2 separate regions of the Homo sapiens genome follow, and region 1 is linked to region 2. The links are contacts of gene promoters, found by promoter capture Hi-C in human tissues and cell types (Jung and others, 2019). All regions are on one chromosome and are shown on one strand. The core of a region is centred on a gene start or on the middle of the fragment in contact, and the rest is flanking DNA. Distances in the headings are between cores, read along the strand shown.

Evidence for each region. Contacts are between HindIII fragments. The study calls those that stand out against the background at their distance.
Region 1: a contact is called between a fragment that was not itself captured here and the fragment with the promoter of NFATC4 in region 2, in 1 of the 25 tissues and cell types used here (adrenal gland).

The regions. Positions count from the first base shown.
Region 1 is chr14:24,415,013-24,419,702 of GRCh38, forward strand. It overlaps NYNRIN (NYN domain and retroviral integrase containing), which reads left to right. Exons shown (of 9, transcript NM_025081.3): 9 at 1-4,271. The coding sequence ends at 2,434. Among named protein-coding and RNA genes, the nearest start is that of CBLN3, 12 kb to the right of the region's middle. The HindIII fragment of the contact is 3,050 bases long and covers 1,531-4,580 here.
Region 2 is chr14:24,365,513-24,370,361 of GRCh38, forward strand. NFATC4 (nuclear factor of activated T cells 4) reads left to right here and starts at 2,672. Exons shown (of 10, transcript NM_004554.5): 1 at 2,672-2,928; 2 at 3,987-4,849. The coding sequence starts at 2,829. LOC124903291 (a long non-coding RNA gene) reads right to left here and starts at 3,873. Exons shown (of 2, transcript XR_007064085.1): 1 at 3,735-3,873; 2 at 4-1,015. RefSeq lists silencers at 1,103-1,412, 3,131-3,510 and an enhancer at 4,473-4,849. The HindIII fragment of the contact is 13,574 bases long and covers 1-4,352 here.

The DNA of each region.
Region 1 (4,690 bases), core at 1,806-4,305, 50 kb after region 2:
CAGCAACTTCACCGCACTCTCCTTCTTCATGGGCTTCATGGACTCCCACAGGGATGCCATCCCTGACTATGAAGCCCTAGTGGGCCCCCTGCACAGCCTCCTCAAGCAGAAGCCTGACTGGCAGTGGGACCAGGAGCATGAGGAGGCCTTCCTGGCCCTGAAGCGAGCCCTGGTGTCTGCCCTCTGCCTGATGGCCCCCAACTCCCAGCTGCCCTTCCGCCTGGAGGTGACCGTGAGCCACGTGGCCCTGACGGCCATCCTCCATCAGGAGCACTCAGGGAGGAAGCACCCCATAGCCTATACCTCAAAACCCCTCCTCCCTGATGAGGAGAGCCAGGGCCCCCAGTCAGGGGGTGACAGCCCCTATGCTGTGGCCTGGGCCCTCAAGCATTTTTCCCGCTGCATTGGAGACACCCCGGTGGTCCTGGACCTTTCCTATGCCTCCCGGACCACTGCGGACCCTGAGGTGCGGGAGGGCCGCAGGGTTTCCAAAGCTTGGTTGATCCGATGGTCCCTCTTGGTTCAGGACAAAGGCAAGAGGGCCCTGGAATTGGCCCTCCTCCAGGGCCTGCTGGGGGAGAACCGCCTGCTCACCCCCGCGGCCTCCATGCCTCGCTTCTTCCAGGTTCTGCCGCCTTTCTCTGACCTGTCCACGTTCGTCTGCATCCACATGTCGGGCTACTGCTTCTACCGTGAGGATGAGTGGTGTGCTGGCTTTGGTCTCTATGTTCTATCGCCCACCAGCCCCCCTGTCTCCCTTTCCTTCTCCTGCTCCCCTTACACGCCAACCTATGCCCACCTGGCAGCCGTGGCCTGCGGCCTGGAGCGCTTTGGCCAGTCCCCACTCCCAGTGGTTTTCCTCACTCACTGCAACTGGATCTTCAGCCTCCTGTGGGAGCTCCTGCCCCTCTGGAGGGCTCGGGGCTTCCTCTCCTCTGATGGGGCTCCACTCCCTCACCCAAGCCTGCTCTCCTACATTATATCCCTCACCTCTGGCCTCTCATCCCTTCCGTTTATCTACCGAACCTCCTACCGGGGCTCTCTGTTTGCTGTGACAGTGGACACCCTGGCCAAGCAGGGTGCCCAGGGGGGTGGGCAGTGGTGGAGTTTGCCAAAGGATGTGCCAGCCCCTACAGTGAGTCCCCATGCCATGGGCAAGAGGCCCAATTTGCTGGCATTACAGCTGAGTGACAGCACCCTGGCCGACATCATTGCCAGGCTGCAGGCTGGGCAGAAACTGTCTGGCTCCTCACCGTTTAGTTCTGCCTTTAACTCACTCAGCCTCGACAAGGAGAGTGGCCTGCTTATGTTCAAGGGAGATAAGAAGCCCAGGGTCTGGGTAGTCCCGACGCAACTCCGGAGGGATCTGATTTTCTCTGTGCATGACATTCCCTTGGGGGCCCACCAGAGGCCCGAAGAGACCTACAAGAAGTTGCGTTTGCTGGGGTGGTGGCCTGGGATGCAGGAGCATGTGAAAGATTACTGCAGGAGCTGCTTGTTCTGCATCCCCCGAAATCTCATAGGCAGCGAGTTGAAGGTTATTGAGTCCCCATGGCCCCTCAGGTCGACCGCCCCCTGGTCGAACCTGCAGATCGAGGTGGTGGGCCCGGTCACCATAAGTGAGGAGGGCCATAAGCATGTACTTATTGTGGCTGACCCAAACACCAGGTGGGTGGAGGCATTCCCCCTGAAGCCCTACACACACACGGCTGTGGCCCAGGTGCTGCTTCAGCATGTGTTTGCAAGGTGGGGTGTTCCTGTGAGGCTGGAGGCAGCCCAGGGGCCCCAGTTTGCCCGGCACGTCCTTGTGAGCTGTGGGCTGGCCCTGGGAGCCCAGGTGGCCTCCCTGAGTCGGGACCTCCAGTTCCCCTGCCTGACGAGCTCAGGGGCCTACTGGGAATTCAAGAGGGCCCTCAAGGAGTTCATCTTCCTGCATGGGAAGAAGTGGGCGGCCTCCCTGCCTTTGCTGCACCTGGCCTTCAGGGCCTCCTCCACTGATGCCACACCGTTCAAGGTCCTGACCGGGGGTGAGTCAAGGCTCACGGAGCCCCTGTGGTGGGAGATGAGCAGCGCAAACATTGAAGGGCTCAAGATGGACGTCTTCCTGCTACAGCTGGTGGGGGAGCTGCTGGAGCTCCACTGGAGGGTGGCTGACAAGGCGAGTGAAAAGGCCGAGAACAGGCGTTTCAAGCGGGAGAGCCAGGAGAAGGAGTGGAATGTGGGTGACCAGGTCCTTTTGCTGTCCCTCCCCAGGAATGGCAGCAGTGCCAAATGGGTGGGTCCCTTCTATATCGGGGACCGGCTGAGCCTGTCACTCTATAGGATATGGGGCTTCCCAACCCCAGAGAAGCTGGGGTGCATCTATCCCAGCAGTCTGATGAAGGCCTTTGCCAAGAGTGGCACCCCGCTGTCCTTCAAGGTCTTGGAGCAGTGAGCGGGAGCAGCGGGGGTGCCCCCTGCCCCAGGGCCGTGGGTTTCTGCTGCTAGGCCTCCCCCTGTCCCAGCAGTGCTCTCAGTCCACTGGGGGCCCTCAGTTGTGCCTTTTGTAGAGAACTTGCTTCATAAAGCTTTGCTGAATTGCCTTGAACTAGGGACCAGCATCCCCATGGAAACATCCCCAGTTTGGGGTACTTGGAGAATTTGCCAAAGGCTGTCAGATATGGGTCCCTGGCAGTTTTACACTGGGAAATGGAGTGCTCCTCTAGGCTATACCAGGCTCAGTGTCTTCTCCCCAAGTATCCTCTTTCCCCTTCACATGTAGGTGTGTGGTGGTGTGCACACACACTCACGAAAGAATCTATCTTGGCCATGAAACTGTGGCTGTTGACCTTGGAATTGGAACCACAGTCCTTTCCCATACAGAAACCCCAAATGTGGGCTCCTCCCTCCAACCTGTTCTTTTGGGGACCCTTTGCCCTTAGAGCTGTCACAGATGACATAAGCCTGGGCAGGCTGTGGGGAGGCCGCTGCCTCCTAGCCTCACGGTCAGCTTTCTCAAGCCAGGTGTGGCCTGCACAGCTCTCAGGGCAGGGCTGGCCATCCTCCCAGGCCTCAAGGGCAGTGTCTTGGAGTGGGAGGATGGCCAGCCACAAGCCACCAGCTTGTCAGCATGGGAAGGGCAAGGGGGAAATGGGTTGGCCTACCTCATTTGACTCCAGCCAATGGAGACAATTCCTGACCCCTGCTTTGATGGTGTTGACCCCACAGGAATCAAGGATCTTGATGCCAAGTGTGGCATCTCTATCTGAAGAGCTGCTTCTGTTAGACCCAGGGGCCCCGGCCTCTGTTTTAAGGGGGCAGGGCGTCTGCAACAGGAGTGGCACACGGTGAAGTGCTGGCATGGCTCTACCTCCCAACCCCTCCCAACCCCATCCCAAAGCCTACAGTCCTCTGCTCCTTCTACCTCCACTGTATCCTGCATCCCAGACCCTACAGATTGTGTGATTGCTTCATCTGTATCACCCCCCGAGTCCTGTGGACCTGCCTTCTGTGTAGAGCAAAACCCAGGCTCCCTCACAGCCATTCTTTGCAGAGATCACCCTTGCAGTGAGTGTGAGTTCCTTCCAGGTGTGTGCGCGTACACTCACCCTCTGAATTGCTGCCGCTGCCAAGGAAGTGGGCTCCAGGTGAAGGCCAGTGCCACGTCACTCTGGCTGGCCTTCTTAGTAGTTTCATTTCTCCGGAAGCTGAGCCAGTCTCCTGGTCTAGCCCAGGTTGCCAGAACGCTTGGCATTGCAGAGTGCTAGAGCCAGTGGAGAACTTGCCAACTTGATTGTTTTACAGCAGAGGAAAGAGGATCACAGAGGGAAAATGATTCACCCAAAGTCACACAGCAAGTTCATGGCTGAGCTGAGACCAGGATTAAGCTTCCTGACTCCCAGTTCACCATGAAAAGGGTTCTGGCAACAGGTTCAAGCTGGAGAATCCTTCAAAATGCTACACCCACATTCTCTCCAACTCTTCATCTCCCTGATCTTCCAGACAAACTACCTGGATGTTGCCCTTAAACCATTTCTAGCTGTTAACCCTGTCCAGAAAAATGATTGAGTGATAGCTGAGAAGTGGAAAGTGTGGGATTTTTGGCAGGTGCTCTCTTTCCTCCGCCCCCCGCGCCATTCTTTCTCTTCCTCCTCTCTGTAATGGTATGTCCAGCCTCACTCTCCCTCCCTGGTGCTGTATGCGTTCCCCCTGTTAGCTACATTTGTGATCACATACCCTTCTTTTAAGTGAATTTTTTTCATTTGATTTGTCAATAAACGAATCAAACTGGAGCTGATGTCCAGTTCTTTGTTTAGCTTCAGTCTCAATTGTGGGAATGAGGAGTGTGGGGCAGTCATGGGGTATGGCTGCTATATGTTTCCCAGATAAACTTGCAGATTTGAAGAAAAGTACCTTTTCCAGACCATCTGCCCCAAGCTCTTACTGTACAGATGAAGAGACCAGGGCCCAGAGGGTGATATGCTTAAGGCTCCATAGCTGCTTCATGGCAGGGCTGGAAGGAGAGTCCCACCTCTGGGCTTCCAAGCTGGTACCCTTGGCAGTTAATGTCTTGGAAGTGGGCAGGGTTGGAATGAAAACGAGTGATGAGGCAGGGCACGGTGGCTCATGCCTGTTATTCCAGCACTTTGGGAGGCCGAGGTGGGTGGATCTCTTGAGGCCAGGAATTCAAGACCAGCCTGGCCAACATGGC
Region 2 (4,849 bases), core at 1,422-3,921:
AAATGGTGGACCATCAAGGTTTACTACATATTTTTGTATAGCTTGAATTGTTTACAAGAAGAATGCATATTAATTAGCTTTATTTAGACCTCTGGGGAAAAGAGAAGACTGCATCTTGTGTAATTAAAAAAAGAAATAAATAACATCCACCTCCAAGGAAGTTGAATGATGCTTGTTAAAGTGCAGAGCAGAAGCCACCAACCAAGGTAAGAAAGCCGGGTTGTGCTCCGGTATGTGCGCTAGGAGGCAGCGGAGCTGAGACCGAGGCCAGGCGGCTAGAGAAACCGCGAACCAAGGACGGGGGGGCTGGGTCTTTCTGGTCGCCAGGGGGCAGAAGTGTAGGGCAACTTAAATCCGCAACTACCCGCTGTTGCCCAGGCTCCAACGCCAGGCCGAGCATTTCAGAAGTCATAAGTTCCATCTCTCTGCCGCAGCCGAGACAGATTGGAGGGTTTTCAGAGTCAAGGGGATGCCCCCCCGCCCCCCGCCTCAGAGAAGCTTGGCACTCTGAACAATCTCAACCACTCTCCCCTCTGCTCCTCCCTTCCCTACCCCCCAACACCCATGAAGGGGAAATTGAGTCATGGGAGGAGAGGCCAGAGTCATCAGGGGAATGAGGGCCGACGCCAGCCCTCAGGGCCTTCCAGATGCTAGGAGGAGGAGGGTTCTCCAGGAAAACAAACAGGGGTGAGAGGGGAAGGCGGTTGGCTGGGCAGGAGCTGAGCCAGACACATGGAGAAACGCTGCCCAGGATCAAAGGAAATATGACATTTGAAAAGAATGTGTGCGTCTGCATGTGCTGTGCCTGCGGGGAGTGGGGCCGGGGAGGGGCAGAGTCTGGGGGAACAGGGGCTGGGCCTCGGGGTCTCTATCCCTGCTTTTCTCGCCTCCGCTTCCCACCTCCCTTGCCCTCTTAGGTACAGGCTGGTTGATGGGTCGAGGTGTTCCTCGTCCTCCCTCCCCGTGGGTTTCTCCTTCCTTTATTTCCGAGATGAAGCTGGAAGGGAAATGTAACCTGAGGAGACCAACCAAAGGAAAAAAAAGAAAAAAAAAAGAAAAAAAAAAAAAAGAAAGAAGAAAATCAAACCAGGCCGCTTCCCCGCTCGGCCTCGGAACATTCTTCTCTCCCCGCCGGCCTGGGCTCTTCTCCCCGCCCCTCCTGTGTTGCGGCCCTGGGCTCGGAGCCGGGGCAGCTCCGCACGTCACTGGGGTCCCCGGGGACTGGGGGGGTGGTCCCCTGGGCGGGCCCGAGGGAGGACCGAGGGGAGGGAGGGAAGCCGCCTCGGCCGCTGCGGAGCTCCGGCCCGTCGGGCCAGCCCTCCCTTCTTTCCCCAGTCCCGTAGAGCCTGTTTCTCATTAGAGTAACGGGCGCGGTCCCCGCCCGGCTTCTGAGTGTTTGTAAACGTCTGACCTGGGGCCGTCGCTTAACCGTTTAGTTGCTGGGATGGGGCGGCGTTGGGGGTGCGGCCCTGAACCGGAGGGATTTAGAGACTGGAGACGCGGCCTCTAAGAGAGGTTGAAACTGTGTGTGTGTGGGAGAAAATGATAACCACCCTCCCATCTCTCCTACCCGCCAGCCTCGCCAGTATCTCCCACCGAGTCACGAATCTCCCATCTAACTCCCTCTCACACAACCCAGGCCTCTCCAAGCCTGACTTTCCCGGAAACTCCAGTCCAGGTCTTCCTTCCTCCTCCAGCCCAGGTGACAGGTGTCCAGCCTGTTGGGGGCGGGGGGGCCAAGGAGGGGGAAGAGGAGGGGAACCCACAGGGTCCGGAGGTTTCAGGCCCCTAGTAAACCTGGCAAGGATTTTTAGAAGAGCCGGAGTGGGATGCTATCGGGTCAGAGATTCATTCCAGACTACAGTTCTAGGGAGGAGGCTGCCAACTTCCCGTGGAGGCTAATTCACGGCCCCTCTGGGTGGCTGGGACAAGGGCAGCGGCAAAGCCTGGCCTGGATCTACGCCCATCAAGGGCTGTGGGCCTAGGGACAGTTCTCAAAGCCTCTTTGGCTCGGACTGCTCCCAGAGGCATCCAGGCTGGCTAAGCGTTCTTCATCTTTGGGGGTCCTGGAGGAATGGCTGATGGAGGCGCTGATTCGGCAGCGCAAAGACTTCCAGAAGGCCCGGGCAGAGTAGCCCCAGGCAAGGGAGGCGGAAGAATAGCCTTTTCCTCTTCCGAGCAACTCGGTGCCACTCTGCCCCCAGGACCCTCCTGGCCTCAGGCTTGGAGGGAAAGGGGAGGAGAAGTGGTTCTGCCTTGCTAGGTGCTATCTACACAGTCTTCAGAATTTAAAAAAGGGTCTTCCGTGGGCTCTCTACCCTGGGGGCCCAGGATGTGGCCCCTTTAAGGCTCTCGGACCCAGAACCTTGAACTGAGACTAGGGGAGGTGGGGGCTGGGCTCTCTGCGGGAAATGATTGTCACAACGGCGGACCAATAGGCAACATTAGTATCACTCTTGAAGGACCGTTTTCCAATTCAGTTTTTTTTTTTTTGAGGGGGAGGGACTGAAGAGAGGACAGAGGGAGGGAGGGTGGGGGAGGACGAGGGGCGCGTGGTTTTCCCATCTCATCCCTGGAGGAGGGGCTGGAGCATCCCCGGCAGCCAATCAGGGACAGGCTGGGGGGGGGACCGCTTTGAAGAAGTTTGGGGGAAAAAAGTTTGGAAAAGTTTCTATAATAACGAGGGGGCTTCTGGAGGGAGGCGGCAGCGACGGAGGAGGGGGCTTCTCAGAGAAAGGGAGGGAGGGAGCCACCCGGGTGAAGATACAGCAGCCTCCTGAACTCCCCCCTCCCACCCAGGCCGGGACCTGGGGGCTCCTGCCGGATCCATGGGGGCGGCCAGCTGCGAGGATGAGGAGCTGGAATTTAAGCTGGTGTTCGGGGAGGAAAAGGAGGCCCCCCCGCTGGGCGCGGGGGGATTGGGGGAAGGTTAGTGCTGGGCTGGGAAGGGGTCTTGGGGTCAGTGAGAGGAGGGCCGGGGATCCTGAGTCTGGGGAATTTAAGGCAGCGAGCCTAGGGTGGGGGGTGAGGGAGTCAGAGGTCGAAGGGAGTCGGGGGGACTCGTTGGCCTGCGGAAGTGAGGCTGGGGGCCCGGGCACCACTTTCTCCTTTTTAGGTCGTGACTGGGGTGGGGGTGGGGGTGCTGTTGGCTGTGCGCCGCCTCCCGGCTGGGCCGCCTGTCACTGAACTGGGGGGCGGGCGGGAACTACGGCCCCAACAGCACCAGGCGCCGCCAGGGGAAGGGGAGGTTTGGCGCTGGAGCTGGCCCCTGGCGGACCGAGCTCTGGCCCGGCCGACTGGACGCCCGGGGCTGGGGGCGCTGTCAGGCCTCGCTGGGGCGCCCCTCCCCCTCCCCCGTCTGGCCGCAATGAGAGGCAGATGGCGGGGACCGAGCCGGGGGCGGCGGCCGCCGCTCGCACGAATCCGCGCTGCCCGCTGCCCCCCTTCCCCCGGCTGGGCCCAGCACGCATCACCCCCTCGGCTGCACCTCCGCCCCTAGATGGCGAGGAGAGAGGGAGGAGCCACCTCCCCTCGTCACCACAGCCCTGACGCCCCCCTCCCCTCTGGCCACGGTTGCGATGGCAACTGGGGCTCCTGCCAGCGCCGTTTGGGGGTTTGGGAACCGCTGCTAATTGGGTTCATGTGTGAGTCGCCCCCAGTCCAGCCCAGTGCCTCAAGAAACACGCCTCCAGGCCCAGCCCCAGCTCCAGCCCCTCTGGACCCACCTCTCTCACCTTAAGACCCACTGGATCGGGTACCCTCGGTCCTAGGATCCAGGGGCCAGTGGGCAAAGGCCTGGCATGCCTGCTTCAATCTCCTCCATCTTCCCAGGTCCAACTCTGCTTTTGTCTTGTGGCTCAGAAGGTCTCTTTGCTGAGGGGCAGGGAGCATAGAAGGACTTGCGGCCTGGCCACTCAAGGAACATAGCCATCTCACCTGCTTCTCTCTTTCCCCCTCTCCCTCTGCTCCTCTTCCCATTTTGACAGAACTGGACTCAGAGGATGCCCCGCCATGCTGCCGTCTGGCCTTGGGAGAGCCCCCTCCCTATGGCGCTGCACCTATCGGTATTCCCCGACCTCCACCCCCTCGGCCTGGCATGCATTCGCCACCGCCGCGACCAGCCCCCTCACCTGGCACCTGGGAGAGCCAGCCCGCCAGGTCGGTGAGGCTGGGAGGACCAGGAGGGGGTGCTGGGGGTGCTGGGGGTGGCCGTGTTCTCGAGTGTCCCAGCATCCGCATCACCTCCATCTCTCCCACGCCGGAGCCGCCAGCAGCGCTGGAGGACAACCCTGATGCCTGGGGGGACGGCTCTCCTAGAGATTACCCCCCACCAGAAGGCTTTGGGGGCTACAGAGAAGCAGGGGGCCAGGGTGGGGGGGCCTTCTTCAGCCCAAGCCCTGGCAGCAGCAGCCTGTCCTCGTGGAGCTTCTTCTCCGATGCCTCTGACGAGGCAGCCCTGTATGCAGCCTGCGACGAGGTGGAGTCTGAGCTAAATGAGGCGGCCTCCCGCTTTGGCCTGGGCTCCCCGCTGCCCTCGCCCCGGGCCTCCCCTCGGCCATGGACCCCCGAAGATCCCTGGAGCCTGTATGGTCCAAGCCCCGGAGGCCGAGGGCCAGAGGATAGCTGGCTACTCCTCAGTGCTCCTGGGCCCACCCCAGCCTCCCCGCGGCCTGCCTCTCCATGTGGCAAGCGGCGCTATTCCAGCTCGGGAACCCCATCTTCAGCCTCCCCAGCTCTGTCCCGCCGTGGCAGCCTGGGGGAAGAGGGGTCTGAGCCACCTCCACCACCCCCATTGCCTCTGGCCCGGGACCCGGGCTCCCCTGGTCCCTTTGACTATGTGGGGGCCCCA